3 separate regions of the Homo sapiens genome follow, and all the other regions are linked to region 3. Evidence: promoter capture Hi-C in human tissues and cell types (Jung and others, 2019). All regions are on one chromosome and are shown on one strand. Each heading gives the region's core, a stretch centred on a gene start or on the middle of the fragment in contact. The rest is flanking DNA. Distances are from core to core; before and after follow the strand shown.

The links. Contacts are between HindIII fragments. The study calls those that stand out against the background at their distance.
Region 1: the fragment with the promoter of OR1I1 here is called in contact with the fragment with the promoter of BRD4 in region 3 in 1 of the 25 tissues and cell types used here (pancreas).
Region 2: a fragment that was not itself captured here is called in contact with the fragment with the promoter of BRD4 in region 3 in 1 of the 25 tissues and cell types used here (spleen).

The regions. Positions count from the first base shown.
Region 1 is chr19:15,080,083-15,085,112 of GRCh38, reverse strand. OR1I1 (olfactory receptor family 1 subfamily I member 1) reads right to left here and starts at 2,902. Exons shown (of 2, transcript NM_001004713.2): 1 at 2,837-2,902. The HindIII fragment of the contact is 16,029 bases long and covers 1-4,893 here.
Region 2 is chr19:15,548,900-15,553,974 of GRCh38, reverse strand. It overlaps CYP4F22 (cytochrome P450 family 4 subfamily F member 22), which reads right to left. Exons shown (of 14, transcript NM_173483.4): 12 at 4,773-4,837; 13 at 3,219-3,301; 14 at 1,658-2,681. The coding sequence ends at 2,504. Among named protein-coding and RNA genes, the nearest start is that of CYP4F22, 43 kb to the right of the region's middle. RefSeq lists a silencer at 2,360-2,409. The HindIII fragment of the contact is 4,717 bases long and covers 1-4,581 here.
Region 3 is chr19:15,330,186-15,335,057 of GRCh38, reverse strand. BRD4 (bromodomain containing 4) reads left to right here and starts at 2,519. Exons shown (of 20, transcript NM_001379291.1): 1 at 2,519-2,768. LOC124904643 (a long non-coding RNA gene) reads right to left here and starts at 2,445. Exons shown (of 4, transcript XR_007067146.1): 1 at 2,410-2,445. RefSeq lists silencers at 2,210-2,279, 2,420-2,519, 2,750-2,979, 3,180-3,279, 3,310-3,459 and 2 more and an enhancer at 1,637-2,253. The HindIII fragment of the contact is 25,776 bases long and covers 1-4,872 here.

The DNA.
Region 1 (5,030 bases), core at 1,653-4,152, 250 kb after region 3:
CATACCTAACCTACCAAACATCACAGCTTAGCCTAGCCCACCTTCAATGTGCTCAGAACACTTACGTTAGCCTACAGTTAGGCAAAATTATCTAATACAAGATCTATTTAATTTAATTTAATTTATTTTGAGACAGGGTCTCACTCTGTCACCCAGGCTGCAGTGCGGTGGCACAATCACAGCTCACTGCAGCCTGTACCTCCTGAGCTCAGGTGTTCCTCCCACCTCAGCCTTCCTAGTAGCTGGGACAGGTGTTTTTATTTTGCCCTCAGCAATAATGATATCTGTAATGGGTTAAACCTTCTTAGGAGCCAGTTTCTTTCTTTTTTTTTCCCCCAGCTATTGGCTGCTCAGCATGATTTTTATTTTATTTAATTTTATCATTTTATTTTAAGTTCCAGGATACACGTGCAGGACGTGCAGGTTTGTTACATAGGTAAACGTGTGCCATAGTGGTTTGCTGCACCTATCAAGCCATCACCTCGGTATTAAGCCCAGCATGCATTAGCTATTTATCCTGATGAGGAGCCGGTTTCTTTCTTTCTTTTCTTTTTTGAGATGGAGTCTTACTCTGTCACCCAAGCTGGAGTGCAGTGGCGCGATCTTGGCTCACTGCAACCCCCGCCTCCTGGGTTCAAAAGATTCTCCTGCCTCAGCCTCCTGAGTAGCTGGGATGACAGGCGAGCACCACCACGCATGGCTAATTTTTGTATTTTTAGTAGAGATGGGGTTTCACCATGTTTGTCAGACTGGTCTTGAACTCCTGACCTCATCATCTGCCCGGCTTGATCTCTCAAAGTGCTGGGATTACAGGCGTGAGCCACTGCAGCCAGCCAGGAGCCAGTTTCTTAATGCATAGGTCTTACAATAACTCCCACAGGGAGATTGTGTTAGCTACAATTTACAGTGAGCAGACTGGGGCTGAGCGAGCTGCCAGGGGCACTCAGCTTGCAAGTGCCTGATCTCGCCTTTGAATTTAGACTTATTTTCACTCTCATACTCCACTGCCTCCCTAAGAATGGCCACTCTCACCTCTTTATGAGGCATTTCGAAGCTAAATTCTGTGCTGTCAACACGTGCAAGGGAAAAATATTCAATTACAAGCATTTACACGTGTTTCTTTTCGAGACAGAGTCTCACTCTGTCACCTAGGCTAGAGTACAGTGGCACGATCTCGGCTCACTGCAACATCCGTCTCCTGGGTTCAAGTGATTCTTGTGCCTCAGCCACCCGAATAGCTGGGATTACAGGTGTGCATCACCACGCCCGATTAATTTTTGTATTTTTAGTAGAGACGGGGTTTCGCCTCTACTAAGCCTGTTGGCCAGGCTGGTCTTGAACTCCTGACCCGGTGATCCGCCCACCTTGGCCTCCCAAAGTACTGAGATTACAGGCGTGAGCCCAGTAATCTCATCATTTCAGCGCCCAGCCGATGAAAGGGGTTTTTAGGAAGGTTAGCAGCATAATCTCCTTGGTAACCCCAAGAGGCCTTCAGCAAAGCCCTATGTTAACTTTTTGAGGCTTTTTAGTGTTGGACTTGAGGTTTTTGCAATGCAATGCTTGGTTTTCTCTAGGCTGGATAGAATACTGCGATTCCCTTCCTGGCAACATATTTGTAACAGTCCTCAGTTGTTGACTTGGGTTGCATAGAGCAGCGGTTCTCAACCTTGAGCACGCTTCAGGGTCACCTGGAAGGCTTGTTAAAACACAAAAAGCGGGCCAGGCATGGTGGCTCACACCTGTAATCCCAGCACTTTGGGAGGCTGAAGTGGGAGAATTGCTTGAGGCCAGGAGTTCAAGACCAGCCTGGCAGACAAAGTGAGGCCACCCCACCCCCAATCCCGCCCTGGATCTACAAAAAATAAAACAATCTGCTGGGCATGGTGGCATGCTTCCATAGTCCCAGCTACTCAGAAGGCTGAGGTGGGAGAATCCCTTGAGTCCAGGAGTTAGAGACCAACCTGGGCAACACAGTGAGACCCCCATCTCTACAAAATAAAAAATTAGCTGGACATGGTGGCACACACCTGTTAGTCCCAGCTGCTTGGGGGGCCAAGGTAGGAGGATCTCTTGAGCCCGGGAGTGTGAGACCATCCTGGGCAACATAGGAAGATCCCTGCCTCTACGAAAATAAAATTAGCCAGGCATGGTGGTATATGTCTGTTATCCCAGGTACCCGGGAGGCTGAGGAGGGAGGATCACTTGAGCTTGGGAGGTCGAGGCTGCGATGAGCTATGATAATGCCACTGCACTCCAGACTGGGCAACAGAGCGAGACCCTGTCTCAAAAACAGAAAGAACAAACAAACAAACAAAACAATCCCCCCGCCCCCTCCCCCCCGCTCCCAAACTCATCATACACAAAAAGCTAAGCCCTTTCCCTGAAATGTCTGGTGTAAGAACCAGCACTTCTAGATAGTTTCCAGAGGATGCTGGTGCTTCTAGCCCAGGGACCACACTTGGGGAGCTGCTGCATTGGAGAAACTTGTTTCTCAAGACCTCTCCTATCTGTGCAGGTGTCCTGCAGCTGCAGACCCTCAGTGCTTTTCCTCCACATATCCTGCCACAGAGGGTCTGCCGTCTGCGTGCTTTGTCCACTCAGAGAGTCTAGACTTGGTCTCAGTCTCTTCTCTCTCTCTCGGCCTCTAGGAAGGAGACAGATTCCTCTCCCACAACCCTCCACCCCCACCCTCAGCTCAATCCTTTCCCCATCCCTCACCTGCTCACCAGGATGGCATCACCAAGGGGAGGGTCCCGGGAAGCCTCCTTCTCCACCAACTGCTAGAGGATCCCGAGGTCAGCACTAAACCCCTAGGAAGGGCATGGGGGCTACTCACCTGTGATCGCTGGGGTTAGCCTGATGTCTATGGGAAGGATTCATATGTGTACCCCCCCGCCCCCAGACTCTGCAGGTGAGTGGGGGAGCCAGGGGAACATCAGGGTATTTATAGTCTGGGGACTCTAGGAGACTTCGTCCCCATAGCTCCTTGTTAAGGAAGCGGATGCTAATTATTTTGTTTCTCCTCTGCCACATGTGACCTGTTCTTTTGGAGATGGGTGTGCTTTGGGATCATCGAGTGGGTAAGAAGAGGAAACAGTGACTAGGGATTCACTCTCACTAGGACATCTCCCTACGGTCTCCTTCCAGCTCAGGCTGAGCTTCATGGAAGCTCCCAGGCAGAGAGGTCTGGGGGGTCCCAGACTCCAGTCGGGCACTCAGATGCCTGAATCTGAGAGGTCCTTTCATTCATTGCATTATGGAAGAAACTGGCTCATTAAGGAAAGCTCCGAAGAGTATCAATCAATCAATAAATCGGTATTAAATAAATAAATTTATCAAACACTTTTTTTTGAGATGGAGTGTCACTCTTTCACCCAGCCTGGAGCACAGTGGAGCAATCTCGGCTCACTGCAACCTCCACCTCCTGGGTTCTAGCAATTCTCCCTCCTCAGCCTCTTGAGTAGCTGGAATTACTGGTGCCCACCACCATGCCCAGCTAGTCTTTGTATTTTTAGTAGAGACAGGGTTTCACCATGTTGGAAAGACTGATCTCAAACCTCAAGTGATCTGCTCTCCTCGGTCTCCCAAAGTGCTGGGATTACAGGCCTGAGCCACTGTACCCGGCCTATCAAACACTTCTTGATCACCTGCTTGGCACTGGAGTTGGACACGGTGGCTCATGCCTATAATCCTAGCTACTTGGGAGGCCAAGGTTGGAGAATCCCTTGAGCCTAGAAGTTTGAGACCAGCTTGGGCAAAACAGCAAGACCTTATATCTACAAAAAATTTAAAAAAATTAGCCAGGATTGGTGGCACATGCCCGTGGTCTCAGTTACCCAGGAGGCTGAGGTGGGAGGATCACTTGAGCCCTGGAGGTTGAGGCTGCAGTGAGCTGTGATCGCACCACTGCATTCCAACCTGGACAACGGAGTGAGACCCTGTCTCTTAAAAAAAAAATCCTTCCTATCAGCCACACAGAACGTGTGTAGGATACTTGTTGAAATTCTCCTAGGGGCTTTAGTAAATATTAGAATTACTTTCCCTAATAATATTGGCTGTTGGACTGTTGGCTCTTGGATCGTAACTCTGTGGGGAGGTCAGCTTCAAAGCAAGAACAAGGTAGACCAACTTCGCGTTGGACATATGGGGATATGAGTAGGTGCCAATCCCACTGTCATTATTTTTTTAAAATTAAAATTATTTTCAGAGGCTGGGCATGGTGGTTCACACCTGTAATCCTAGCACTTTGGGAGGCCGAGGCAGGTGGATCAATTTAGCTCAGGAGTTTGAGACCAGCCCGGCCAACATGGTGAAACCCTGTCTCTACTAAAAATACAAAATTAGCTGGACGTGCCTATAGTCCCAACTACTCAGGAGGCTGAGGTGGGAGGATCCCTTGAGCCCGGGAGGTGAAGTTTGCAGCAAGTTGAGATCATGCCACTGCACTCCAGCCTGGGTGACAGAGTGAGACCTTGTCTCAAAAAAAAAAAAAAAATCAATTTGAGCCCAAAGGTTGGGGAAAAACCCACCTAAAAAGTCCATAAGGTGGCCAGACATGGTGGCTCACACCTGTAATCCCAGCACTTTGGGAGGCTGAGGCGGGTGGATCACTTGAGGTCGGGAGTTCGAGACCAGCCTGGGAAAAATGGTGAAACCCAGTCTCTACTAAAAGTACAAAAATTAGCTGGGCATGGTGGGTGGGCATCTGTAATCCTAGCTACTTGGGAGGCTGAGGCAGGAGAATCACTTGAACCTGGGAGGCGAAGATTGCAGTGAGCCGAGATTGTGCCACTGCACTCCAGCCTGGGTGACAGAGCAAGACTCCATCTCAAAAAAAAAAAAAAAAAAAAGTCCCACTGGGTGAACAAACTTTTGCCACTGTCCGTGGTTCTGAAAAAAAATTATTTTGCCCAAAGCCATGGTAGGTAGGACATTGGTGTCTCCCATCCGAACTCTCCTGGGAATTCTGAAACCAGTTATAGAAGGAAGAGTGAAGAGAGATAAGGAGGAATAAAAGATATATTCAGGAA
Region 2 (5,075 bases), core at 974-3,473, 220 kb before region 3:
AAGTCACAGAAAAGGCCCTGTGTGAATTTACTTCTTTCTTTACTTATTTATCATTTATCATATCTCCTCCCTAGAGGTAAACTCTGGGAACCTAGGGCTCAAACAGTGCCTGTCTCACGGCAGATTGCCCAAGAAATATTTGGTAAATTAATTTTTTTTTTAGACAGAATCTCACTCTGTCGCCCAGGCTGGAGTGCAGTGGCACAATCTCGGCTCACTGCAACCTCCACCTCCCAGGTTCAAGCGATTCTCCTGCCTCAGCCTACTGAGTAGCTGGGATTACAGGCACCCGCCATCAAACGTGGCTAATTTTTGTATTTTTTAGTAGAGACAGGGTTTCACCATGTTGGCCAGGCTGGTCTCAAACTCCTAACCTCAGGTGATCCACCTGTCTCAGCCTCCCAAAGTGCTGGGATTACAGGCATGAGCCACCGCACCCGGCCTGTTGAATTAATATTATTGTCTCTAGTGACCTAGATGGAAATAGTCTACAGGCAAATGCTACCTAAAAGGAAGATGATACCACTATTATACCACCACTATATATATAATGATGGCATATATAGTGCATATATATATATTATATATGTGGTATAATAGCAGTATCATTTTCCTTTAGTGTAGCATTTTATATGTATAAAATTGCTGACATTGTCATTGCCCACCTTTTTTTGTTTGTTTGTTTTTGGAACAGGGTCTTGCTCTGTTGCCCCAGCTGGAGTGCAGTGGTGTGATCATAGCTCACTGCAGCCTCAAACTCCTCAGCTCAAGTGATCCTCCTGCCTCAGCCTCCCAAGTAGCTGGGACTACAGATGTGCACCATCACACCTGGCTAATTTTTTATTTTTTGTAGAAATGGAGTCTCACTGTGTTGCCCTGGCTGGTCTCTAACTCCTGGTCTCAAGCAATCCTCCAGCCTCAGCCTCCCAAAGTGCTGGGATTACAGGTGTAAGCCATCACGCCTGGCCCCCATCTTTTATATTCCCATATCAGGGACTACTCTACCATCAAGTTCCCTCAGCCAAATACCTGAGCATCACCCTTACCACCTCCCTCCCCTCAGCCCCCACTGCTAGATAGTCACCCCAATCCTGGCCCTTCCTGTTGTCTGGACCTCAGCTTCCCTCTTTCCCAGGGTCCCAACCCCGCAAGTCACCTCCCTGCCAGCCCTAGATCTGGCCATGTCCTGTCCTGATCCCGCTCACACACTCTCCATGGCTCCCTATTGCCCTCAGCATAAAGCCTGTGCATTTGGCCCCTTCCTTCATTCTGCCCCCACTTCCCAGATCCAACCACCTGGCCCCTGGTGAGTTCCTCAAACACACTCTGTTCTCCCTCAGCTCAGGGTATTCTCAGATGTTGTTCCTTCTGCCTGGAATACTCTTCCCTCCCCTTGTCACCCACTCAACTTCCATTCCAGCATCGGAGAAGCTCTCCCTGACCCATCCCCATCCCTCTGCTATATTCATCCAGCACCCGGGGCCTCTCCTTTGGAGCACCTGTCCTGGGTTGTAAATAAACCTTTACACGTGGAATTATTTGTTCAACATCTGTCCCCCACCCCCTAAGAAGGCAGAAAACAGGGCCTGCCTGTGGTTCTGAAGCAGTGCCAGCAAACAATATGTGATCTGTTGATGAAATAAATGAACACACAAACTGACCCCCAAAATCTGAGTTTATGTCCTAGGATAAATGGCTTTCCAGCCTCCTAGCCCGCAGCTTCGCTCAGTTGCAGAGCCCCTCATTCCCATGCTGGGGGCTCCACGTGTAAGGATCTGGCTGAGCTAGGGGTGGAGGGTGGGGTAAGTCTGCATCCTTTGCTTTTATTCTGCAAAAACAGAACACTCAGCAAAGGATCTTTGGGCAAGGGAGGAAGGAAGGGGCTTACAAGGGTCTGAGTTTACAAAACAACAACAAAAGCAAGCAGCCTCGAACCCTACGATCCAGCCTCACGCCTGAGCAGTCTGCCCGTATGAGCTGAGGGCCTCAGGAGGGTGATGTCCGAGTTAAAAGCTCTGACGTCAGGCTCCAGCTTTCCTCAGTTTGGAAGCCTGCCAGGGGTTCAGCCAGTTGGGGGGGGGTGGGGTGTGGTGGGCCCTGAGTCATAGGTGGGTCTTAGGTCCTCTGAAGGCTCAGTGGGCAAGGCCTGGAGACCTGGATCTGCAGGGGCGTGGCCTGAGGACCTCAATCCGTAGGATCCTGGGGGCGGGGCCTGAGCCCAAGGGGGCAGGGTCGACCCTGGTCCCTCAAACAGGACAGGTGCGAGAAGTCAGGGGGCGGGACCTAAGCCTCAAGGGGCGGGATCAGGCCCCCTAAGGGGAGGAGCCTTGCCTTGAGGGGCGTGGCCAGTACCACCAGGCTGCTCAACAGCGGTGCCTGGTCATCCAGGAGCTGAACCTGAACTTCGAGGGGGGTGGCCTATGCCCTCGGGATCTTTGGGGCGAGTCCTGGTCCTTTGGGGGCGGGGCCTGGACCCTCGGGAGCCGCAGGGGCGCGCCCACGCTCAGGCCCGCGGAGGCAGCGGCTCCACCTTGAGCCAGAGCCCGTTCTCCGTGCGCAGTATGAGCTCCGGCTTCCGCCGCACCTTGCGCGTTCGGTCCACGCTCAGGCGGAAACGTAGCAGTGTTAGTGCCACAACCACGCGCAACTCGGCCATGGCGAAGCTCTGTCCGATGCAATTCCTGGAGGAAGAGGGGACAGGGCTCAGGCCCAGCTTCTGTGTGAGCACTGGTCCCCGGGGGTCACATGCCTCCTTTGAAAATGAAGCAAGCATCCTGGGCTGGCTGAGGGTTAAAGTGAAACCCCACGCTGGGTGAGGGTTAAAGTGAGACCCCACGGATCGCTCAATTAATGTGACCTTGGGGTTGAGTGTCTGAATCCCAGTACAGCCTCTTACTAGCTGTGTGTCCTGGATACACAGCGCCCCCTCTGAGTCTCAGTTCCTTCATCTGTAAAAACGGGGACAAAGGCATCATAGAGCCAATGGGAGCGTGGGAGCCCAGAACTCAGGGCCTGACACACCGTTGGTGCTCAATACCCAGGATGCTATTGCAGAGTCTGATTTGGGGGCCTCCTGGCGCATTGGGGAGAGGGTGCTGGGTCTTCAGAAAGGACGCCTGGGTGCCATCTGATCTCTGCTCCTGAGAGGCACATTCCTGATCTTTCCCTGCCTCTGTTCCTACACAGCTGGCTTGGACTAGGGGAAATAGAGGGGTTACCTGGGTCCTGCAGAGAAGGGCACATAGGCCAGTGGAGAGCGCTGCTGTGGGTTGTCCGGGTCAAAGCGGTAGGGGTTGTACACCTAGGGAGGAACAGCCTGGAGATGAGTCTGGGGGCTGCCCCAGACATCCCAGCCTGGCCCCCTTCCCTGAGCCTCTGGGGGTCAGTAAAGATGGATGGGGAGCACCCCAGGGCCACCTCTTCCATTCCACCTTGCACTTCCTGCAATGCAGCCACACCTGCCTCCTTCTGTTGTTCACACGCACCAGTGAGATTCCACCTCAGGGCCTTTGCACTTGCTGTTTCCTCTGCCTAGAACAGGCTTCTCCCTGATCCTTCATCCCCTAAGTTCTCAGCTCAAACATCTCCTCGGCAAGGCCTTTCATAACCACTCGAGCTAAAGTGCCCCCTCCACCTGTTTTTCTTTTTTTTTGTTTGTTTGTCTGTCTTTGTTTGTTTGTTTGTTTGTTAGAGTCAGAGTCTCACTCAGGCTGGAGTGCAGAAGCGCGATCATAGCTCATTGCAGGCTGGGCGCGGTGGCTCACGCTTGTAATCCCAGCACTTTGGGAGGCCAAGGCAGATGGATCATCTGAGCTCAGGAGTTCAAGACCAGCCTGGCCAACATGGTGAAACCCCATCTCTACTAAAAATACAAAAAAATTAGCCAGGCATGGTGGCACACACCTGTAATCCCAACTACTCAGAAAGCTGAGGCAGGAGAATCTCTTGAACCCAGGAGGTAGAAGTTGCAGTGAGCCAAGATCGCACCACTGCACACGCTCCAGCTTGGGCAACAGAGCAAGACCCAGTCTCAAATAAATAAATAAATAAATAACCATAGCTCATTGCAGCCTCAAACTGCTGGGCCCAAGCGATCCTCCTGCCTCAGCCTCCCGAGTGGCTGGCACTGCAGATGTGCATCACCATGGCTGGCTAACTTTTTTTTTTTTTAGAAATGGGGTCTCACTGTGTTGCCCAGGCTGGGCTGAGCTGGAACTTCTGGCCTCAAACAATCTTCCCATCTTGGTCTCCCAAAGCACTGGGATTACAGACACAAGCCACCACATTGGGCCAACTTTTTCCTTTTTGGTAGAGATGGGGGGTCTCGCTGTGTTGCCCAGGCTGGTCTCAAACTCCTGGGCCCAAGCGATTCTCCCACCTTAGCCTCTCAAAGTGCTGGGATTACAAGTGTGAGCCACTGCACCTGTAAACCGGAACTGGCCCAGTTTTTCTTTCTTTTGTGCATGTATCAATACCCAAAATCTTATTTATTTGCTTATTGTCTTCCCCAAAACTTCACTGTGAGCCCTGTAAAGGCAAAGACAGTATCATCCTCTATTTTCAGAGCCCAGCACACACTCTGGCACACAGTAGGTGCTCAATAAATATTTTCTGCCCTAATGAATTAACAATCAGTGGGTGAATAAATGGCTAAATGCGGAGTGGGGAGGGGTGTGCGCACTCAGGCCCTGCAACCAGCCCTGCTCGCTGGCTCCCTGGGGCGCAGGGGAGGGGAGGACCTGAGGGCAGGGAGGAGTGGGGCAGGCACTCACCTTGGAGTCAGGCCACACTGTGGGGTTGTGGTGGGTTCCATAGATGCTGACCAAGCAGATGATTCCTGTGGGGAAAGATGGGATCAGTGGGGCCAAGGGGAGCCAGGGCCTCCTCCAGAAACATCCCCCAACTTGGGTCTCCCTAGAGCCATGATGTTCCCATGAGCCATCTGCCACCACCTTCTGTCCATCCTTCTCTAAAAAATTCTGCTGCCCCATCCACTCTTCCCACCTTTCCCTAAGAGGAACCTATCATCTTCTTTCTGGCTGCCAAGCTGGCCACATAGGGATCTTTCTTACTCG
Region 3 (4,872 bases), core at 1,270-3,769:
ATTTTTAGTAGAGACGGGGTTTCACCATGTTGCCCAGGTTGGTCTCAAACTCCTGACCTCAGGTAATCTACCCGCATTGGCCTCCCAAAGTGCTAGGATTACAGGTGTGAGCCACTGTGCCTGGCCCCATGTAGACTTTTTAGAACTGAGTTTGCTTTCCTTTTTTTTTTTTTTTTTTTTTTGAGATGGAGTCTCACTGTCGCCCAGGCTGGAGTGGAGTGGCACGATCTCAGCTCACTGCCACCTCTGCCTCTTGGGTTCAAGTGATTCTCCTGCCTCAGCCTCCAAAGTAGCTAGGATTACAGGCACCCGCTACCATACCTGGCTAATTTTTATATTTTTAGTAGAGTCGAAGTTTCACCATGTTGGCCAGGCTGGTCTAGAACTCCTGACCTCAGGTGATCCACCTGCCTCGACCTCCCAAAGTGCTGGGATTACAGGTGTGAGCCACCGCGCCCAGCCTGCTTTCCATTTTTAAAAGATGGGAATACAAAATGCTAAGAGAATGGCCTGGGTGCGGTGGCTCACGCCTGTAGTTCCAGCACTTTGGGAGGCTGAGGGAGGTGGATCGCTTGAGCCCAGGAATTCAAGACCAGTCTGGGCAACATGGTGAGACCTCCTCTCCACAAAAATACAAAAATTAGCTGGGCACGGTGGCGCACACCTGTGGTCCCAGCTACTAAAGAGGCTGACGTGGGAGGATCACTTGAGACTGAGAGTTTGAGGTTACAGTGAGCTATGATCCAGCCACTGCACTCCAGCCTGGGTGACAGAGCAAGATCTTGTCTTAAAAAAAAAAATATATATATATATAAAAGGAAAGAGAAGTGGTTGTTTCCAGGTTTGAAAAATTTCACAGTATTATTTTAAGCTACAAGAGACATATGCCTAACTTCCTCCTTTTAGCAATCTCAAAACTACCCCATGTTTACTAAGCTCTTCCGTGGCCAGGTGGGGTGCTTTGGAAGCCCTAGAAGAGGTCATATGATGTTTTTTCCCCTCGGACTCACACATGTAGAGTAGGCACATACGTCCTGGAGCTGACTTAGGGTTGAGTCTTTTTCTTTTTTGGAGACAGAGCCTTGCTCTGTCGCCCAGGCTAGAGTGCAGTGGCACAATCTCGGCTCACTGCAACCTACGCCTCCCGGGTTCAAGTGATTCTTCTGCCTTAGCCTCCTGAGTAGCTGGCATTACAGGCATGGGATTACAGGCATGCGCCACCACACCCGGCTAATTTTTTTTTTTTTTTTTTGAGACGGAGTCTCGCTCTGTCGCACAGGCTGGAGTGCAGGGGCGCGATCTCCGCTCACAGCAAGCTCCGCCTCCCGGGTTCACGCCATTCTCCTGCCTCAGTCTCTCGAGTAGCTGGGACTACAGGCGCCCACCACCACACCCGGCTAATTTTTTGTATTTTTAGTAGAGACGGGGTTTCACCGTCTTAGCCAGGATGGTCTCGATCTCCTTACCTCGTGATCTGCCCGCCTCCCAAAGTGCTGGGATTACAGGCGTGAGCCACTGCGCCCGGCCCACACGGGGCTAATTTTTGTATTTTTAGTAGAGGCGAGGTTTCACTCTGTTGGCTAGGATGGTCTCCAACCCCTGGCCTCAAGCCAACCTCCTGCCTCTGCCTCCCAAAGTGCTGAGATTACAGGTGTGAGCCACCGAGCCTGGTCTGACTTGGGGTTGAGTCTTAAGGATGGGAAGGAGCTGGGCGCGGTGGCTCACGCCTGTAATACTAGCACTTTGGGAGGTCGAGGCAGGAGGATCGCTTGAGTCCAGGAGACAGAGACCAGCCTGGCCAACATCGTGAGATCCCATCTCTACAAAAAATAGTTAGCTGGGTGTGGTGGTGCACACCTGTAGTCCCAGCTACTTGGGAGGCTGAAGCAGGAGGATCGCTTGAGGCCAGCAGGTTGAGGCTGCAGTGAGCTATGACTGCACTACTGCACTCCAGCCTGGGGGACAGAGCAAGACCATGTCCCTTTTTTTAAAAAGGTGGGTTGGAAGAAGATCAACAGGGGGGCATAAGAGGAGAAAGGTGCTACCTCCCTGCCCAGGGGCAGCCAAGGAGGATCCGCCTCGGCCTTGCTCGCAGCCTCCTCTCACCTCCTTTCCTCCACTTCACCCCAGCCCCGGCGCCCCCATCGCAGCTCTCTCGCCTCAGCCTCCCTACCTGGGGTCCCCCCTTAGGGCTCTCTCCTCCGCCTCCTCCATCAGTCTGTGGGGTCCCTCCTCACCATCCTCCCTCCCTGTGAGGGTCTGTCTTCAGACCTTTCTTAGTATTTTGGATGTCTCTCTCAGCCTTCAGATCTTTTCCCGCAGGCCCAGCCTGCAGTCCGCCCGTTTCCCCCAGCCCGCTCCTTCGCTCTGCGGGGTCTCCTCCCTCAGTCCGCGGTATCCCCCACTCACCTCGCAGCCACTGTCTCTCCAGAGCTCGTTCGCGCTGGGCGCGGGGGCGGGGCGCGCACACCGGGCGGCGGCGGCGCGGGGCCGCGCGCGCAGCGTGCGCGGTGACGTCAGTGCGCTGGCGGCGGCGGCGGCGGCGGCGGCGGCGGCTGGGCTGTTTGTTCTGGTCTCCCGCAGCCGAGGAGCCGAAGCAGTGGCGGCGGCAGCGGCTGCGGCGGCTGCCGGCGGTGCCCGCGGGCGAGCGCGGCCTGTGAGCTCGGCAGAGCGGCGGGCGGGCCCCGGCGCCGCGCAGGCAGCTCGGGGAGGGGGCGGCGGCAGCGGGCGGACGGCCGGCGGGGGCGGCGTGCGGCCTAGCGTCTCAGGTGAGGACTGGTGCCCTTTGGGGCGGCGGACGACACTGGGCGGCTGGCGGAGGCTCGCGGCGCGGTCCGCGTAACCTGCATTGCGTAATGGGGCCGGGGCGCCGCCACCTACGCCATCCGCGCGGCGCGGGGGCGGGGAGGCCGGGGCTACGCGGGCTCGGGCCTGCGGGCCTCCCGCGCCGTTCGTTCCGGGCCGGGGCGGCCTGCGCCGTTGGTGTCGGGGCGGCGGGGTCGCTCGCGGCTGTCCTGCCTTTGGTGCCGTCGGACCCGGGCTTGGGCTGGCCGGCGGGGCGCGGGTGGGGGGCGCGGGCGCCGCGGCGGGGCCGGCGGTCGGGGGCGGGCGGGGGGCGGGCCGAGGCGCCCGGCACTTCCTGCCGCCGCCATTTTGTTAAGTGAGGAGGAGGAGGAGGAGGAGGAAGCGGCCGCCGCGGGGTCCGCGGCGCGCCCGGCCCGGGTAAGTCCCGGCCTGGCGCGGGGGCCGCGAGCGCAGCTGTCCCGGTCCGCGGTCCTCTAGGCGGGCTCGGCCGCGGCGCTCACGTGGGCCGGGGCCGGCGCGCTCTCCTTCTGGCACCCAGGTCGTTTTGCCTGGGCCGGGGCAGCGCGCCCCCACCCCCATCTCTTCACCTTCCCGGCGGTCCCCGGAGTGCTGCGGAGAAAGGGGCAGGTCCCCTGCGGAGGGAGGTGGCTGCGGCTGCACGCCGGTCTGAGGCCAGGCCTCAGGGCGGGAGCGGTGCCCTGGAGGCGAGCTTGGCCCGCTTGACGCACCCACTCTCAGCCTGGCAGCCCCTTGCTGGGCGCTTTGTTTTGCTCGGTCCGTGCTCGCCGGCGTCCTTGCAACGGCCTATTTTATTTGCAGTGTTGTGTGGTGGTGGTGATTGTGGTGATTTGGGGTGGGGATGTGGGGGAGTTGTGATTCAGCGAAATAAAATGATCCCCCTCCTCCCAAACGGAAATAGCATGGCTTCACTCGGCTGAGATGCCCCCAAGGCTTGGGTTTGCTTGAAGATGGGAAACCCCACTCTGTTGTAGTGGACGGTGTAAATACTTTAGTTCAGGCCGGTGCATGAGTCATGTGCTTCTCCTGGGTGGCTGACCTCCCTTTTACTCAAGACTACGCTTTGTTTTTTTAAGATTTTTATTTGCTTGTTTACTTGTTTACGTTTCGTGCAGCCTGGTGGGGTGTCTGGTCTTGGGTTCATTTCTCTGCGTGTGTGTTGGATGCTAGTGACCCCTTGGAATGTATGCCTCACGAGAATTGGAATGTCTTTGCTTACCTTCGACAGGGCTCTACCAGTCCGTGGTTCCAAAAACCAAGTCGCAGTTTACCTCGTAAGCCAGTGGCTCTTTGGGGCTGTAACAATGGTCGGGAGTTTTTTGTGAATGGAGCTGTCAAGTTCCCTACCGTCTTTGGAAGTTGTAAAGAAAGCGATACTCAAAAGGATTTATGAATGTGTTTTTAATTTCAAGAAAGTTTTTGATGGCACAATCTGTTTTATGATCTTGCCAATATATACATATACTTTTAGATGGAGTCTCGCTCTGTCGCCCAGGCTGTAGTGCAGTGGCGCGATCTCGGCTCACTGCAACCTCTGCCTCCTGGGTTCAAGCGATTCTCCTGTCTCAGCCTCTCGAGTAGCTGGGACTACAGGCGCCCGCCACCACATCTAGCTAATTTTTGCATTTTTAGGAGAGACGCGGGTTTCACCATGTTGGCCAGGCTGGTCTCGAACTCCTGACCTCAGGTGTTCCATCCTCCTCGGCTTCCCAAAGTGTTGGGATTACAGGCATGAGCCACCGTTCCCGGCCGCCAATAATTTCATAAAGCATTTATTTCGGTTTAATTTGGGTGGGGATTATGTTTTTTATCTTTTTATCTTATCACTGATGCGTTGTAGATAACCAAGCGCTTCCCCCCAAAAACTTCAGCCAGGGAAAGATAAACCACTCAGGGTTTCCATTGATCAAATGGAGAAGGCAAAGCCTAATCTGAAACAAAATGTATTGCTGCTCTGTTATCCACCATACCTCTTTCTTTGGTAGGAAACATAGTATCTTAAAGGCTCAAACTGGAGTTAGCCGGTCTCAGAATGGCTTTAGTTGGTCT